Regions from separate parts of the Homo sapiens genome. Here region 2 is linked to region 1. Evidence: promoter capture Hi-C in 16 types of primary human blood cells and fetal thymus (Javierre and others, 2016). All regions are on one chromosome and are shown on one strand. Each heading gives the region's core, a stretch centred on a gene start or on the middle of the fragment in contact. The rest is flanking DNA. Distances are from core to core; before and after follow the strand shown.

Region 1 (2,964 bases), core at 376-2,875:
TTTTTCCTTTACATCCACACAACACTGTATTAGTACAGTGTGTCTTGTTCTGTCACTATTTCTGTATCTGTCTTTTTCTTTCCTAGACAATAGGTGCTCTGCTGACAGAGAAATGACTCGTTCAACTTTTTATCCATTCTTGTACCTTTCACAGAGTAGGCTCTGAGTTCCAATTATTTGAGTTTAACTATATCTTCATAGCTGAATAATTCCAAACTGAAGAAAATGCTGACTTTTATAAAGATTTGCATTTATATAGGAAATACGGTATCTACTTTTAAGAAAATTATTTTCTATTTTATAAACGTGCATTTCCACATTTATGGTAGCAAAATTAAAGTACATTTGCCGAGAGATACTAAAGACAGCAAAACTTCTATTTAAAATTTTAAACACGAAGAAGAAATAAAGTCCCATTAGGAGTGTCTCTTCTATTATTGAAGGAAATTTAAAAAGATTCCTACTACAGAAATGGCTTTAAGAAAAGCAATAGGAAAGGTTATAAATTTGAAATATTCATAACTGTTCTAAAAAATACTTCATAATGATTGCTCTTTGTGCAAGAAATGTATCAAAGAGCCAGAGACCTCATCATCTAATTTCTTACTTTTTCTTAATTAACATTGTTCCCAGACCTCTGCTAAACTCCCGTGTTGAAAGGAAAAAAGTAAATACAGTACAGCAGGGAAAACTGGTTCCTTTCGACAAAACTGAGAGAGAGGCTTGAGCTTTTGTCAAACAGAAAGCACTTGATAAAAAACTATTCCTAAACTATTAGCAACTATATAGAAGCTTTTTATTTAACAGCATCCTCCTGGGAAACTGCGCTGGAATGTGCAGCGGTTCTGAAAAAGGCACAGATTTGGCTGAACTGTAAATATTAGGTGCACAGAGGCGAAGCCATTGTGTAGGGAGGGGTGGGGCAGGTAGGGTCCTGATTTCCAATGTTGATAGAAGGATTCCAATTTCGTTTGGTATTTATTTTTTTCTACTACAATTACAGTTTTGCTGAGAAAAATAAAATATTGGTTGTGCTTCCATCTGGGTTTCTAATTTTCAGTGTGTACAGACAAGAGAAGACCTCTCATTTACCCAAAAGAATCACCTTTCTGCAATCTCCAGTGCTACTGGACAAACAAACGAGCCCAACCCCACCGCCCACACCTCCCAAGCACCCGGCTCGCCGATCCCGCCTGCTTCAGGTAGCTGGGGTTTGCCCGGTACGCCAGCGGCCCTGAGACGATGTGTGCCCGCAGCACGATCGTGTCTGTTGGCATTTCTGGGTGTGGATGCTCCAAACCAATAAACCACAATACAGAACCCAAGCTTGGACTTTGAACCGAGCCCTTTTGCCTAGTTTGCTTTTTCCTCATCAAGCCAGGATCCTTGCCAACCCACCTCACAGCTTCTGCCCGGGCTGTGGCTCCCCTCCAGCCACCTGCGCGTGTTCGGGATAGAAGCGCGGTCAGGAGGGGAGCTCAGTCCACCAGCCACTCCAGGGAGAGACGGAAACTACAAATCCCATCAAGCCCCGCAGCCGGCTCCCTCCTCCTCCCTCTCCTTCCCCTTCAGCCTGCGGCCGGGCGGCGCTGGGCTTTTATCTGCGGACCCGCCGGGAGGGAGCCAGATCCCAGCGATCTTCCCCGACGGCAGCGCTTTACCCAGAGGCTGCCGGCGGCTCGTAGCTGGGTTCAGCTCTGCGTCCACGCCAGCCCGGAGCCCGGGGGGCAAGGGGTCTGTCCCGGGCGCAGCGAGAGGATGGTCATCCGCGTGTTCATCGCCTCTTCCTCGGGCTTCGTGGCGGTGAGCGCGGTGGGGGCGGGCAGTAGGTTGGGGTCGCGGGGCGCGGGTCCTGCGGGAGGCGCGCGGCGCTCGTCACTGCGCGTCCTTGCGCTCAGCCGGTCCGCCCGCGGGAGCCCGCGCCCGGCAGGTGATCCATCACACTCCGACAACAATGAAGAGGGCGGGGAGGAAAGGTGGGTGGGGGACCCCGGCCTCACCCAAATGCCCACCCTGCGTGGCCTGAAAGGCAGACAACGCGGCCTGAAAATGGAGTCCGAGGGAAGCCCCCAGCTCCTGTTGTGTGGCATGGAAATTTGGGGAACGGGTTGTTCAAGAGCTTCGGGGATCCCCCTTCCCCTAGTTTAGTTCTTCCCGATTTGGGACCTTCAGACTGGTTATGTTTTGCACGGGAGCCTTTTCTGCTGCTTTGGTTTGTTACCCTAGCTCCTGAATGAAGCAAGTTTAAGTGGGAATTGCTCTCTGTCCTCCCTTCCCCGCCAGCAAGTGCATTTGTTTAGTTTTATACCTGCGCAAAGAGAATAGTAAAACTAGGTTTGTCCTGTTGTGGTAGGATTGTTTGCTTTCACTGTCATTTTTTTTCTTAGGGTGCCATAAATATTTTTACATCTTTATGTAAATGTGTGTGTATGCACGCATTTTCTTTCCACCTGTAATGCTGTGGAAATTTTATCCTGGGGATCTATGAATTGTGGTTTTCTATTTAATTATTTTTAGCTATTCTCTTTGGTGGATGTTCTTGAATTTTTTTAGAGAAAAAAAATTTTTTTAAAGAAAGGAAAGTTAAATAGCTAGAGATGTCAGAATTTAAGGAAAATTCAGTAGTTAGTATATTTGACAGCCCACTAAGGGACATAGCACATGTGTTTTACATGATTATTGAGACTTGGTTTCCTTAACCAAGAGTTCAGCTATAGATTTAAGAGCCTCCTTTGTGACATATATAATCAAGTAACATCAAAAAGTGCATTGTAGATTGCTTAAATTTGGTCTGGTCAATTGTCTGCCCAGTAGCTCAGTCAGATTGTTCCAAAATTTGTTTCTTAAGTGGGTGGAGTGGAGGATGGAATAAAATATTGTTTGAAAATCCTTGTACACCACTGAAGTTTTTTATTTAAAAAGAAACCAACACGATCATACAAAGCCCCTCCACCCCCATTTGCA
Region 2 (2,860 bases), core at 5-2,504, 240 kb after region 1:
TCCAGAACACTGAAAGGAGGTAGAGAGGCTGTGTTACCTCTTCAACTTTGAGCCCCATCTTGCTGAATCAGAGAGTCAACTGAATAGGATTAATATTAAGACCAAACAAGGACGGTTTCAAGTTGTTTGACTAGATATTTCCTCCTTTCTCTCTTATCATATGTTGTTTTTCCTAATTATTTAACTCTTAGGCCTTCCAATTCTATCCCTCCTTGTTGATTTATACCATCCATACTCTTTTGGGTAATTAAGATTTCCTTCTTTAGTCATCACCCCAGCATATAAATTTCATTATCTTTAACTTATCTTACTTATCTCAGTGTAAGAAACTCATCTAAATACACCTATCCACTTCCTTTTGCAGACACGATCATAACATTTGTAATTTTTCTCGGTTGTAGCTGAATAAGTTACTTAGAAGATGATTTTACATGTTCTTTTTATTTCTTTACTTATCCTCTGTCTACATTTCTGACATGTGCACATGCTCCAATATCTAAGGTTAAATCTTCACTGGTTGGGCAGGTGAGTAGTTGATATACGACTAACAGGCAATTCTCCTTCAGGAAACTCAAGATTGTGTAAGTATGCCTGATTCATCCCTGCTGCTGCAACTGAAACATGTAATAAAAGAGCAACAACAAAGAGAGGCGATGATGACAGCTTAGCTGCAGCATCTTGTTCTCTAGCTCAATAAGCCAACAGGGAAACTATGACCCTGGTGAAACAAGTAGCTCTCAGAATCATTCCAGTCATTCCAAAGAGTGATGTGATTTTTCTTCACATGTTCACAATGAAGATACTATGTTGTTTAATTGATGCTCTTTTTCAAAGTGTGTTCTCTTGTTTCTATATACCTCCCTTATAAGGCTCCATACTGTCATTCAACTTAATTTCTGTTCAACAGAGATTTCTTAAACACCTCCTACATGCTAAGCACTGTGCTAGGAGCTATAAATATCATGAGGTGGATACAGACATGGCTGTCTCCTGGTACATTCTTTTTCTATCATTCAATCACATTCACCTATTTTTAAATATGTTGATAATGAGTCAGGATATAAGAATATAAGGCTAAAAGCACGGGCTCTGATCAGAGAGACTTGGTGATGAGCCTTAAGCTTATCACTATTATGGTGGTCATAGGCTTACTTGCATGTACTACTGAGCCTTTGCTTTCCCATTTGTGAAATAGAGGTCACATTAGTACCTACTCCCCAGAATAGTTTTGAGGATTAAGTGAGATAAGTGCTCCAGTGTCTTGAATTTAGCAGTGTTAAAAAAGTAGAAGTTCTTATTAATTAATAATATGATTTTCCTGAGAATGTAAACACAGACTCACTAGTTCTCTGCCAGAAGGTGAGGCACCTCCTTGAGCCTCCTAAGAAAAGCTTTTGACAAAGGTTGAAACTGATGTGTAATTGAATTCATAACAAGCTTGTTGAATGGTCAACCAGGAAATATTAAGGTGAAGATTTCTCATGTCAAGTGAAATTAAGAGAATATGAACTAGTGCTGTGACCCCCAAGCTCCCTTTCTTTAAAAGACATTTTCTCTGATTTATTCTGAATAAAACAAGTCTGAGAGAGGCTGTGAAGTAATGGTTCTGTGGTAATTAGGTCATCTTCAGAAAGTGCTATATAAAATATTATGCATTATATATTCACAATGCACTTCATTAGCATGTTAAAAATTCAGAGAATACTAGCAGAAAAGAAGCCGGTTTTAATTTCTTATCATTTCCCAAATTCATTTGTCTGTAGGATTCTTTGTTTGTTGAATAGCATCAAGTAGCATCTCAAGGAACACCCTTTGGGAAATGCTGCTGAGAGAAGCTAAGAACTTGCTTCACGATCGTCAAGCACTGAAAAGGATTCATACTTGGGAAACTGGCAAACTGTTTTTCTGACCCTGACCCTTGCCAGTAGTATAATCATGGGCAAGTCACTTGATTTCTTCACATGTAAAACAAAATGATAATATATCCTCCATGGACAGCCATAGAGAGAAGATTCATTACAAAATGCATTTACGGTAGGAACAGAAGTTGACAATAAAAGTTAATATTGTCACAATGTGCATTCTAATTTACACGAAACTCATTGCAAGGAAGCAGATCTTAAAAGTAGTCTTGATACTGGAAGACTGGGAAGAGTTTGGGTGTGCTCAGGACAGAGCTATTGACTAAAGTGTGAGGTATGTGTAGAGAAAGATGAGGAATCAAGGCTGGGAAGACGAGAAAAGGAGGAAGATAATTTGGTGCTGGGGTGCTGAGGACACTAATAGAAATGGTGAAAAACAAATGTGAGTAGGGGTGGCTGAGGGGTAAAGCCAGACTCTTTTCTGACATGCTAGTTTGAAGAGCAAACAAACCATCCAGTTGGCAATTTCATTTATCTAGATCTTAGGAAAGAGTTCAGAGCTTGTGAAACAGGAAACATTAGCATATTATTGTGAAATTTTTGAGAGAAGAATCATTTCTTATTCAGCTCCGTATCTTCTGTGTTCAACCTGGTGTCTGGTGCGTAGTAGAAGGTCTTAAAAGTTTGACAAATGAATTAATCAATGAACAAATTAATTAACTGCAAGTCTAACAAATCAAAGTAGATTCCAAGCCATATAACCGAAGTGGAATAAAACACCAGTTAAATGAATGAAATGATAGCTGAACCCCTGGAATTGGGAAGATCCACAATTAAAGGTGCATGGAGAAAAAGAAGAGGACCAAGGACAAAACAAAGAGGTACAACTTATTTGATGGCTGGCAGGAGCTAGAGAAAACAGAGTCAGAGACTGAAGAAGAAATGAGTGTTTTGCAAAAGGATCGGAAAGAAAGGAGAAGTTGGGTGTCAATGATATA

Evidence for each region. The method cuts DNA at HindIII sites, captures the fragments that hold promoters and counts their contacts. A CHiCAGO score of 5 or more calls a contact.
Region 2: a fragment that was not itself captured here is called in contact with the fragment with the promoter of SH3BGRL2 in region 1 in 1 of 17 cell types (M1 macrophages); the score reaches 5.2 in M1 macrophages.

The regions. Positions count from the first base shown.
Region 1 is chr6:79,629,704-79,632,667 of GRCh38, forward strand. SH3BGRL2 (SH3 domain binding glutamate rich protein like 2) reads left to right here and starts at 1,626. Exons shown (of 4, transcript NM_031469.4): 1 at 1,626-1,803. The coding sequence starts at 1,759. The HindIII fragment of the contact is 2,885 bases long and covers 1,325-2,964 here.
Region 2 is chr6:79,872,537-79,875,396 of GRCh38, forward strand. No RefSeq gene overlaps it. Among named protein-coding and RNA genes, the nearest start is that of LINC01621, 62 kb to the left of the region's middle. The HindIII fragment of the contact is 270 bases long and covers 1,120-1,389 here.